Regions from separate parts of the Homo sapiens genome. Here region 1 is linked to region 2. The links are contacts of gene promoters, found by promoter capture Hi-C in blood cells and fetal thymus (Javierre and others, 2016). All regions are on one chromosome and are shown on one strand. The core of a region is centred on a gene start or on the middle of the fragment in contact, and the rest is flanking DNA. Distances in the headings are between cores, read along the strand shown. Region 1 holds the start of MAP4K3 (mitogen-activated protein kinase kinase kinase kinase 3). Region 2 holds the start of ARHGEF33 (Rho guanine nucleotide exchange factor 33).

The links. The method cuts DNA at HindIII sites, captures the fragments that hold promoters and counts their contacts. A CHiCAGO score of 5 or more calls a contact.
Region 1: the fragment with the promoter of MAP4K3 here is called in contact with the fragment with the promoter of ARHGEF33 in region 2 in 13 of 17 cell types (naive CD8 T cells, neutrophils, total CD4 T cells and 10 more); the score reaches 11.6 in naive CD8 T cells.

The regions. Positions count from the first base shown.
Region 1 is chr2:39,433,057-39,438,906 of GRCh38, forward strand. It overlaps MAP4K3 (mitogen-activated protein kinase kinase kinase kinase 3), which reads right to left and starts at 4,229. Exons shown (of 34, transcript NM_003618.4): 1 at 3,836-4,229. The coding sequence starts at 3,931. MAP4K3-DT (MAP4K3 divergent transcript) reads left to right here and starts at 4,360. Exons shown (of 6, transcript NR_037875.1): 1 at 4,360-4,479. RefSeq lists an enhancer at 3,423-3,502 and silencers at 3,833-4,192, 4,263-4,482. The HindIII fragment of the contact is 5,405 bases long and covers 1-5,205 here.
Region 2 is chr2:38,885,953-38,892,154 of GRCh38, forward strand. ARHGEF33 (Rho guanine nucleotide exchange factor 33) reads left to right here and starts at 3,923. Exons shown (of 18, transcript NM_001145451.5): 1 at 3,923-4,034. The HindIII fragment of the contact is 7,511 bases long and covers 69-6,202 here.

The sequences.
Region 1 (5,850 bases), core at 2,979-5,478, 550 kb after region 2:
TCTTTACCATAGGACTTCTCAGTCTTTAACCTACTCATGGTATGGCTTTTCCTGAAGCACCCCAACCACACTTTGGAAAATGCCTGTGTACAGAATTTAGCTAATGCCTAAGAAGCCCAGTCCAGAAGTCACTAAAGATGACTCTAAGGCTTACAGCCTGGAGTCTTTGTGTATCCAGTCTTGGATACACAGGCTAGGAATCATTCACAGGGACCAGACTAAAACCATAAGACTAGGTAAGATACTTCCTCAGAAACCATATTGAGACTATTCTTTCAAAACTTCTTTTGCCTTATCCCATCTCCAGCTTTACTATCTCCTGCTTCTTTCTAGCAAAAAATCTAGAAAAACATAAGGACATCAAGACTTAAAGGGTAGGAATAATAAAAATTAAACTGGAAAACTGCCTGACAAAAGATGGCACAATGCATGTGAAAATCATATTATGATCTATTATAACTACCTAATTTCTCCAAGAAAACTTTTTTGAATGGCAAACCTATGGATCATTTTTTCATTTTTTTGGATCATGAAGCTCTTTAAGAATGCAATGAATGCTATAACCCATCTCCACAGAAAAACACAAATACATACAACATTAAGCCTATTAATTTCAGAGCACTCCATGGGCCTCCTGAGGCCCAACTAAAGAGCTTCAGTTGCCAGCTCCTAGGTCCCTAGGTAACCCAAGCTGCAGGCACTTCATGACAGATAAAGCCTGCAGAGTTACACGACACTTACAAGATACGACTTTAGACAGTGCAGATAAAATGTATATATGCATTGGCCTGAAAAAAATAAAGATAACTTACTTACTAAGTAAAATTTGAGTCATTTAGTCAATACCAAAAGAAGAAGGGCATATGATGGTAATAATATCTCCACAACAAAACAGCTCTGAGAGGTTGATTTCACAAGGTCACATAGCTAATAAATCCCAGATTGTCCACATCCTTGTTCAGTGCTTTGGAACTAAACCACGCCACCTTAAGTACAATAAATATGTTATTACATTGAGTAGGAAAACATTTTCAAAATAAAAATCTCCACCAACCTTCCAAGAATGACTATAATCGGATCTCTTATTTATTTAATCCAATCATTCCATTTTTAGCACGTAAATGCTGACAAATTAAGGAACAAATTATATATATTGGCTTTTGAAAACAAAATGTACTTCTCTCTAGCACAATTAATTTGTATAAATAAGAAAAAACTAAAACAGCAAAACAAATAACAAAAAAATGTAACTTTATAGAATAAACTTGATTATAGACAAAAACATAAACAAGAGTTTGGCAGGCAGGGGTACATGATGTCAAGAACCACATGAAGTTTCTCTGCTTTGGTCACTGGTATTGGAAGAGTCTGGCAGGCAGGGACCAAGCATCTATTATCTGATATCCACTTGGCAGACTACATAAACAGTGAGACCTTGTGGCACAGCAGGAATTAGGTATTCCAACTACTACTTAAAGATCTACACTGACTCAGAGTGTGGCTACAACTCAAATGCTAAACTAAATGTGTGCCTCAGTTTCTCCACTGGAAATGTAATACATTATCTGCCCATCTCCTATCTTTAGAGAGGCAGCACTGCCAATTGGTTAAGAATACAGTCCCTAATTGGTTCAAATTTTGGCTTTGCCACCTACCAACTTTGGCAAGTTAATCTCCTTGTGCCTCAGTTTATTCAACTGCAAAATGGAGTTAACAATAGCACCTATCTCACAGGGTTGCTGTTAGGATTAATTAGAAAAATCTTATAGTGCCTGGCAAGTAACAAGCATTCCATAAACATCAGCTAGTATTATCATTATTTTAAACGAATGACAAGATTAACCAACTTAGTATACCTCTATTACACTTAGGAAATTACAGGCCCTAATTTTTTTTTGCTTTTTAATCATGTGGCTTAACTACTAACTGTTCTTTTTAATATAGCAAGTACACAGCCAATTAGTCCTGTAAAAAAATTCACTGTATACCCTGCCACCTAAAACGTATACATTCATCGAGTTTTAGTTAACTTTTCATCGCAATATAAGCGAACTCCCCCAACCAGTCATAAGTGACTTGCATCCATCCACTTCTACTTTCACAGTCATCACCATATTCCTTAACACCATTATTCTTACCTAGACTATCACAGTGGCCTCCCAACTGCTCCATTCCACTCTTCATGCTGTAGTAGGGAGCTCTTTTAAAAACCTAAATCTAATGTCACTCCTCTGCTTAAAAGCCTGCAATAGTTCCCCATTGTCCTAAACAAGTCCGATCTCCTAATGAGAACTAAGAGGCCTGCAAGATCTAGGGCCACCCTCCCGCTCTGGCTGCTCAGGCTATACAGGCCTTCTTTCACATCGGGCCTCAGAGCCTTCACATATCATGCTCCCCTATCTGGCGTAATCCCCTCTCCCCAGTACCCTAAGCAACGCCTAATCATCTCTGAGATCTCAGCTGAAAGGCGATGAGCGTCTGATACCCTAAACAGGATCAGGTCCTCCTATTACATGCTCTCATAACCCTGATCCTAATACTCTTTTCTGCATCACAAAATTAAACGGCAATAATTATTTAAATGGCTATTTAATACTGTCCTTGTCCAAAAAAATAGAAACACTTAGGAAGATTTGGAACCAAGTCTATCGTTTACTGCTACAACCCAAAGTGCTTACTTGCCAAGTATCTCATACATTGTAGGTGGGCTCAATATATCTATATTGCATAGTAGGAAAAGTGATGAGATCCACGATGGTGAAAAGTAGATCATCCAGAAAATCAGACTAAAGCAGAACACTGGCTGCACTGTATTAAATATGTAAGTTACCACAGGCATTACACTGAAGAGTAAAAACCTGCTTAAACATGGGCAAAATAAAGTTAAGACTGAACTTTCCAATGCAAAATTAAGTTTCTTTGTGCATCCTCAGGTGTTATGTGAAACTGGAGGAGTTCAACTTCAGTTACCAGTAAGAAGATACACAACTAAATCAAGACTGCTGCCACATTTGGCAACAACCTCCTCTCTTCTTGGCAGTAACTGTGAGGCCAAGAGTTGAGTTGGCCAGGGAAGAGTGATTTATCTTCCCACATTTAGAAGTGGTCCCTCTACAACAGGAATGCTGTACCGCTACTGGACTTTGAATTCTAACCTTGTCAAACCAGTACCTTCCCTAAGTATTCAAGTCACTTTTTAAAAAACAAGTTTAAATGGCATCGCAGTCCAATTCGACTTAGAGAAAACAAAGTTGCTCTTTCCAAAAAAAAAAAAAAGTCATTACTCTGGAAAATTAAAAGAAACTGACAGGGGGATGAATAAGGCGCTAAAGGCTGAGAGCTGTCGATGGAAGATGGAGGTCGCTCAGCATAGTATAATAACTACCACCGAGGCCTGGTGGGCAGCAGCTCCCAACCTAGAGCGGACGACCCCAGGTTGGCGTGAAGCAGGCAGGTTTGACAACACCAGACCCCTGCTGTCCGGTTCGTCGCGCTGACCCTGCCAACGCAACAAACGCCCAGACCTTCTCTGCACTATGGATGAGCAGTGTGGCCTGCTCTCGTTCTGCCCTTCCCTGGAAATGCGCGCAAGAAGGGAGGTGGCAAAAATCATGTCCACCGGGGGGGCTCAGGTAAGGGCTGGGGAGGTCTCGGGGTTAAACATTCGGCCCTTTGTTCACCAAGGCAGCAGAGCCCTTGGCGTCCGCAGCTCCTCCTCCCCGACTGCTCCCTGGCGCCAGCGTCTCCCGAGGACAGGCGGCAAGGGCTCGGACGCCCAGGCTTGGCTGCGGGTCGGGATCCCACGGCCTCGGCGGCGCGCGGCCCCTGCCTTTACCTTGTAGACGTCGCCGTAGGTGCCGCTGCCGATGCGCTGAATCAGCTCGAAGTCCTCCTGCGGGTTCCGGCGGGACAAATCGAAGCCGGGGTTCATGGCGGGCCCCAGGTGCCCCCCGCCTCCCTCCCGGGCAGGGGAGGGGGGCCGCTCAGGGGGCCACACGGAGAGAGGGCGCCGCGGCCGGCTCCCGGCTCCCCCGGCGGTCACAATCACCCGGCTCCACGCTGCGGCCGCCGCCGCCGCCGCCGCTCCCCTCACGCCGCTGCGGACGACGACAAGCGGCCAATCGTCCCCGCCCCCCGCGGCCCGCCGCCGCGCCGAACCTGGTCACACCCACAAGGAGAGGAGAACCCTCGCAGCCCCTCGCTCGGGGTGAAACTCCAACATGGCTTCCGCTTTCGCCGCTCCTCCCCCTCCCCTTACTCCGGCTCCTCCAACCTCCTCCCCTTTTCCCGACTCCCGCCCGACTGCGCAGCCGCGATCCCGGAGGGAGCGCGCCAGGCCTGGCGCGCACCCGACCCCTTGCGCGTTCCGGCTCCGCGCGCCTGCCAGGCCGGGGCCGGCGGCGGAACAGCTTGGGACCCGAAACGCCTCGGCTTTTCTGCGGACCCGCGCCCGGCCGCTGCCGCCGGACGCTTGAAAAGGTTTGCCTGGCCCAGGGACCGGGGTTAGGACTAGCAGAAAGTGGCTTCTTTTCGTTTCTGATTCCCCTAACGACAAAGTTGGACCTTGGTCTATCTGGTCCCAGTTCCAAGCAGGTAGCATAGTGGTAATATCCAAGACAGCCAATGTCCCAGCCTTTATTATTTTAGAAGCAGCTACATGTAGGATACCATGGAGTGCTGCAGCCTTTCTGGGATTGCGGGGAGGGGTCACTAAACACACCGTGAGGAAAACCCCCAGGAAAAGTGAGCTGTGCTTGCTTGCCCCTGTCACCGACACTCGGACCCTTGGAGTTGGCCTGCCAGGGTGCAAAGGAGGGCAGGCCAGGAGGGCCGCGAGGGAGGTGTGTGCAGTGGGCAGAGCGTGAAAGCTCCGGGAGGAAAACACGCGGAACAGCTGCCCACCATCCCGCGTGGGAGGCAGGCAGAGCGCAGAACTAAAGCAGTGATTGACCTCCCTCTTCGAAGAGGGTTGGATTATCAAAGACGGGCGGGGACTGCGCAGGCTGTCAAGCAACCCTGTAAAGAAGGGGTGGAGAGTGGACTAGATCTATTACCGCACCTGAAATATAAACACGTGACGATCCGGAAGCTCTTTAGCTGTGACCTTACCTACCCAAAAACCCCACCCTGCTTAAGACCCAGATTGCGCGTCTTACATCTGAGCTATGTGGACTCCAGCTCCGATTGTTAATACTTGCCCAAGAAAGCTTGAGGGTAATGGAAGGTTATTTTTCTGTTCTCATTGAACTTCCCAATAGACATTTGCAGGAGCTTTAATCAATTAGGTGATGGCCACTTTGGCAATACCACGTTGGAGTTTTGCTTCAGAAATGCTTTCCTAATCCCCTTAGGCACCACACCTTCTAACCACTAATATTCCCTAATACCTCGTGGCTCCTGAGAAACTAGGTCTCATCAAACCTGTTAAGGATAAGTATAATAAATTAATAGTAGAGCAAACTACTTAGAGTTAACTGCTTCATACTTTTTCAAAAAATCTTTTGAATCCTTTTGCTCATAGGAAAATTGCATATGTACTAAATTCTCAAATTGTTTACTTTGAGTATCTGTTGACTAAATTGATGTTTGAAAATGGTTATCTCTTCACCTATATAAGTAGCCTTTCAGTTGTGTAATTTTTAATTATTAAATTTTAAAGCATCAGTAATATGAAAGTATCACTTAAATTATTGCCTTAGGAGTGCATATCATTGAATATCTTCTCGATGGATCTACCTTCAGGCTCTGGTATCTTGAGAAACTCCTGACTATAAATGTTATTCCATAGCCAAAGGTCTTGCTTTTGCTTGTTTAAGGTACTTGCCCAGGACCCAGATTACAGGCCTTCCT
Region 2 (6,202 bases), core at 2,673-5,172:
TAAACATAACAGAGGTCATATATAAAAAGCCCACAGCTAACATCATACTCAACAGTGAAAAACTGAAAAGCTTTTACTCTAAGACTGGGAACAAGGCAAGGATGCTAACTCTTGTCACTTCTATCTTTAAAAAAGTATACATTAAAGGAGACTATCAAGAAAATGGAAATACCATCCTCACAATGGGATAATATACTTGCAAATCATATCTGATTGTCAGAAATTTGCTTAATATAGTCACTGCCTCAGCATCCATTTTTAGGCCTGACATAAGTTGTCTGACATCCAGTCATATCCCATTACTCTTGGCCTAGTTAAAACTTTCCTTCCCCTTGTAGTTGTTTGCAATACAGCCCACTTGTTCCTTACCCTGCTGACCCAAAACCCAACACATCCCACAGGTGCTGACCATGATAAAACCTAAAGGTCAAAATAAGTCATGCAAAAATAAGTTCCCCCTTTCCACATGTTTTCTTTAAACTAGCCAATCCACAACCCCAGAGGGAAAGCCTAAGGGATAACATCCGTGGACCTTAATAAAGGTGTAGTCCTGTGGTCTTCTCTCTCACCCCCACCCCACTGGTTGAGCTCACTGCTACCTCCAGATTTCCAGAAACCATAGCAATAAAAATTATGACACTGATACAAAGTCTAGTTTCCAAAATGTATAAAGAACTTTTACAACCCAACAATTAAAAAAACCTTAATTTTTAAAATGGGCGGGGGGCAGTGGCTCACACCTGTAATCCCAGCACTTTGGGAGGCCGAGGCAGGCAGATCACCTGAGATCAGGAATTCAAGAGCAGCCTGGCCAACATGGTGAAACCCCATCTCTACTAAAAATACAAAAAATAGCTGGGCATGATGGCGGGCACCTGTAATCCCACCTGCTCAGGAGGCTGAGGCAGGAGAATCGCTTAAACATGGTAGGCGGAGGTTGCAGTGAGCCGAGATCGCGCCATTGCACTCCAGCCTGGGCAACAGAGCGAGACTCCCATCTCAAAAAAAAAAAAAAGGTCAAAGAATTTGAACAGATGTTTCTCTGAAGGAGATATACAAGTAGCCAATAAGTAAACAAAAAGATGCTTAACATCCTTACTCTTCAGGGAAATGAACCTTAAACCTACAAACCCACCGTGAGATACCACTTCACACCAACTGGGATAGCTATTATTATTATTATTATTTTATTTTAAGTTCTGGGGTACATGTGCAGGATGTGTAGGTTTATTACATAGGTAAATGTGTGCCATGGTGGTTTGCTGCACTTATTAACCCATAACCTAGGTATTAAGCCCAGCAAGCATTAGCTATTTTTCCTGATGCTCTCTCTTCCCCCACTTCCACAACATGTGTGTTGTTCTCCTCCTGTGTCCATGTGTTCTCATTGTTCAGCTCCCACTTATAAGTGAGAACATGCATTGTTTGGTGGGATGGCTATATCAAAAAAAAAAAACAGACAATACAAAGATTGGCAATGATGTGGGGAAATTGGAGGCCTCACACATTTCTGGTGGGAATATAAAATGGTGCAGCTGCTGTGGAATACATTTCCTCAAAATATTAGACATAGAGTTACTACGTGACTCAGCAGTTCCTAGGTATGTACGCAAGGGAATTGACTTGCACACGAATGTTCATAGCAACATTATTCATTGCTATAGTCTGAATGTGTCCTTCCAAAATTCATGTTTAAACCTAATTTCCTCACGACTGTAATCCCAATACTTTGGGAGGCCAAGGTGGGTGCATCATTTAAGGTCAGGAGTTTGAGACCAGCCTGGCCAACATGGTGAAACCTCCTCTCCACTAAAAATACAAAAATTAGCCAGGCGTGGTGGTGTGTGCCTGTAATCCCAGCTACTCGGGAGGCTGAGGCACAAGAATTGCTTGAAACTGGGAGGTGGAGTCTGCAGTGAGCCAAGATGGCGCCACTGCACTCCAGCAGGGGCAACAGAGTGAGACTCTGTCTAAAAACAACAACAACAACAACAAAAACCTAATCTCTACTGTGGTAGTATTAAGAGTTGAGGCCTTTAGGAGGTGATTAGGTTATAAGGACAGAGCCCTCATGGATGGGATTAGTGCCCTTATAAAAGAGATGTGAAGGAGATTGCTTGCTTCTTCTGTCACAAGAGAATGATGCAAGAAGGTGCCATCTTTGAAGAAGAGAGCAAGTCCTTACCAGACACTAAATCTGCTAGTGCCTTGATCTTGGACTTAACAGCCTCCAGAACTGTGAGCAATACATTTCTGTTGTTTAAAATTACCCTGTCTAAGGTATTTTCTTATAGCAGTTCAAATGGACTAAGACATGTATAATAGCCCCAACTGGAAACAATCCAAATGTCCATCAACTAATGAATGTGTAAACAAAATGTCCACATAATGGAATATTATTCAGCCATAAAAAATGAAGTACTGATACTACAACATGGATGAACTTCAGAAACATTGTACTGGCCAGGCAGGTGGCTCATCCTGTAATCCCAGCACTTTGGGATGCCAAGGTGTGTGGATCGCTTGCCAGGAGTTTGAGACCAGGCTGGGCAGCATGGCAAAATCCCATCTCTACAAAAAATACAAAAATTAGCCAGGTGTGGTGGCACATGCCTATAGTCCCAGCTACTTGGGAGGACTGCTTGAGCCCAGGAGGCAGAGGTTGCAGTGAACCAAGATCATGCCACTGCACTCCAGGATGGGTGACAGAGCAAAACTTCATCTCAAAAACAACAAACAAACAAACATTGTACTAAGTGAAAGGAACCAGTCACAAACGGCCACATATTATATGATTCCATTTATGTGAAATGCTCTGAATAGGCAAATCCTTAGGGACAGAAAATAGATTAGTGGTTGCCAGGGGAGGAAGAAATTGGGAGGCATGAGGTTTCTAGAATTAGACAGTGGTGATGGTTGCACAGTCTTGAAAATGTACTAAAAACCACTGAATTGTTCATTTAACAGGGACAAATTTTATGTATGATGTGTAAATTATGTCTCAATTTCTTAAAAAGTAGATCTGTGTGTTGTCATATATTCTATGTCCAGAAAACTTCTTTACTTTTTACATAAGATAATTTAAAAATTACCAGAGCAGTATATGTCAACTACATTTAAAAAATTACAATAAAGACCTGAATGTTTTTGCTGAAACTCTATATTCTAAAACTGACAAAAAATAGTGTACACAATAGATAACTTCTTTGTCATATTTCTCTATTCAAAATCTTGTGAATATTTGTATTTCTCAATATGTTATTGCCAAAAGATGTATATTTTTATTTTTTGCTGTACTGGCACAAATTTGGGTTACAATGTCTTCTAAAATGTTAAAATAAAAATGGCATTTTTGTTAGTTTCTCATAATAATAGCTTTATGGCTAATTTTGAAAGACCCTATTTGTAAGTTTTCAAAGACACATTTTAAGAATTGGACATTTTTGTATATGTTGCTAAACATTAGCTGGCATGGCTTTAGAATTAAATATTATTATTATATGGAAATTCATGAAGAGACAAATACTGGACAAGTTAAGATAAGGTGAGAAGATGTTTTCAGGGACCAGGACATATAATTTAAATTCAAAAACTTCTGGAAAATATAGAAAAGTATCTGCTTTGCTGCAAAATAAATTTTCCCTAATTTTTTTCAATTTATTTAAGGCAGCAAGATATATATTTTACTCTTAAAATATTTAACTTGTATTGCTATGTTAATAACTTTTCAAAGTACAACTTTTCAATTTTCTAGTATACCAAAGATATTCCTCCTAAATGGGTTTCTTCCTTTTTACTCATTGAAACTAAATGCAGTTCAGTTATTTGATTAGTTGATGCTAGAATTTGACCTGGAGCTTATATAATTAGAAGAGACACTAGTTTTCCTCATTTAAAAGCCTGGTTAGCATACTACGGTCTCGTTTCAGGGGAAGTCAAGCCTCTCTACTGCTTCTTTTTATAACCTTTAAGTTAATTCAGAACCCAGATAAGCCTTGATCTGAGGATGATATAACCACCGCAGGCAACATGGGGTAAGTATGCGCTTTTATATGCTTTAAGGGGCACTGAAAGGGGAAACAATTTTATAAGAGATGAAAACCCATCAATCCTTACCACGTGGTGTACTAATTTAAATCCAATATATGCTAACATTTATTTGAGGTAGGCATTCAAAGAAATAACTTTTATTTAAGAGTTATAACAATTTGTAAAACATTTATTTCCTTGCTTAATTTTTATATTATGTCTTAACTGCGCTTTGCAGGTTATCGATAAACTGGAGACTGAAGTTGTTCTGCATATTAATAAATATAGTTGAAGATGAGTTAAATTTTGAGAGCAGTCTTAAAGAAAGGATGCTAGACAGCGTAAATCTGACATGGACATGCCTCTTTGGGATTAAGAATAATTAAAGAATGAAAAAGATTAGGGATGGAGGGAGATTGGTTTATTCCTTTCTAACACAGAAAAAGAATAGGGGAATCTTCAGCATTCACTCCCCTATGTACAGAACAAAAAACATATCCTGATTGAAAATGTGTACTGATTAATTACATGGGGGCTTTATTGGTGAAACCTAATTCTAAACACTTCATGGGGCTTTGGTGTGTAATGAGAAGAACTGAGTTTCACTTAAACATTGTCTTAAGTGAGAATAGCGTTCTATTATAATTAGTATTGGAATTATGTGAGTTTTTATATGCTGAAATAGTATTCTGAATATGTAGAAATCTCTATATCACCCTTTTATATTTTTAATAGCCCCTTTTAATACAAAATCATATTGCTGTAAATGGAATAGCTATTTCATTGAAGGCTACTTCTGAAGGATTCAACATAATGATCAGAAATGTATCCTAGAGAAAAAAGTTTTTGATGCACATTTATTCTAAACATTTTTCACAAACTGAATTAATTAATGTCTACATTTTTCATAACCATGGGCTCTGGAAATGCAATCTAAACTCATTTGAAAACTCAGAGGCTTTTGAAACAAGATGACCATACTATTGGTTTTTTTTTTTTTCTTTTTTCTTTTCTTTTTTTAGACAAGGTCTCACTTTGTCACCTGGGCTCAAGCAATCCTCCCACCTCAGCCCCCACAGGTAACTGAGACCACAGGTGCACACCACCACACCCGGCTAATTTTTGTATTTTTTGTAGAGATGGGGTTTCGTCATGTTGCTCAGGTTGGTCTTGAACTCCTGATCTCAAGCAGTCCTCCCACTTCAGCCTCCCAAAGTGCTGGGATTACAGGTGTGAGCCACCATGCTCGGCCTTATTGTTAACTTTTTCTTAATTCCCTTTATTTACCTTCCCTTTTCTCTGTGTATAAGGGTGTACTTCAACATAGCAGGCCAGTAATAAACTAAGTAATGTAGATACAAAGATCAACTGATCTTCCTCCTTCCCTTCCTCTCTCCTTTCCTCCCTTCCTCTCTCCCTCTTCCTTCCTTTCTTTTTCTTTAATGACAGCAGTTCTTAACCTTTTCGGTGTCAAGAATTGCTTTTAGAATCTTCAGAAACCAGTCCACCATTTCTGCAAAAAAAAAAGTAAAATCACACAAAATTTTGCATACAATTTCAGAAGATTTACAGGTGACCTGAAACCCTATTCCTGGGACCACAGGTTAAGACCCTTAGACTTTGATTTTAGGACTGGAGTATGATTTGTTCAATATTTCTCTTTGTTTGGATTTTTATAAATGTAAGAATCTTTAAATTCATAATTCTTGCTAATCTTCTCAAGGACAGTGTGGAAGATTCCCCACCCGCCCCCCACACAATTTACATGAGTGTGAAACACAGTTTAACCAACATGCATCACATTACTGCTGCTGGGCCCCAAGGACTTGACTAATCACTTGTGCCTTTTGAGAGTGCCAGGAATCACCTTGGGAGTCATGGAAGGAAAAAAAACCCTCATTATGTTATTTGTAAAGCACTTTGAATGCCCCAAATAAGATGAACGAAACAAATCATAAATGCTAATATTACAGAGAGCACTCTTCTGATTGGTATGTTCATGATTATTTTGTTGTCTGTTCATGCCTTTACTGACAAAAAGACAGGGTAGTAAGTATTAACATCTGTTTGAGTCTTCCTAAAATAATCAGAAAAATAAAGAAAAAGTGGCAGCTAATCGGATTCTCAAATTTATCCATTTGAGGAAATCTCTAGAATTTATTTCCTGAGAATG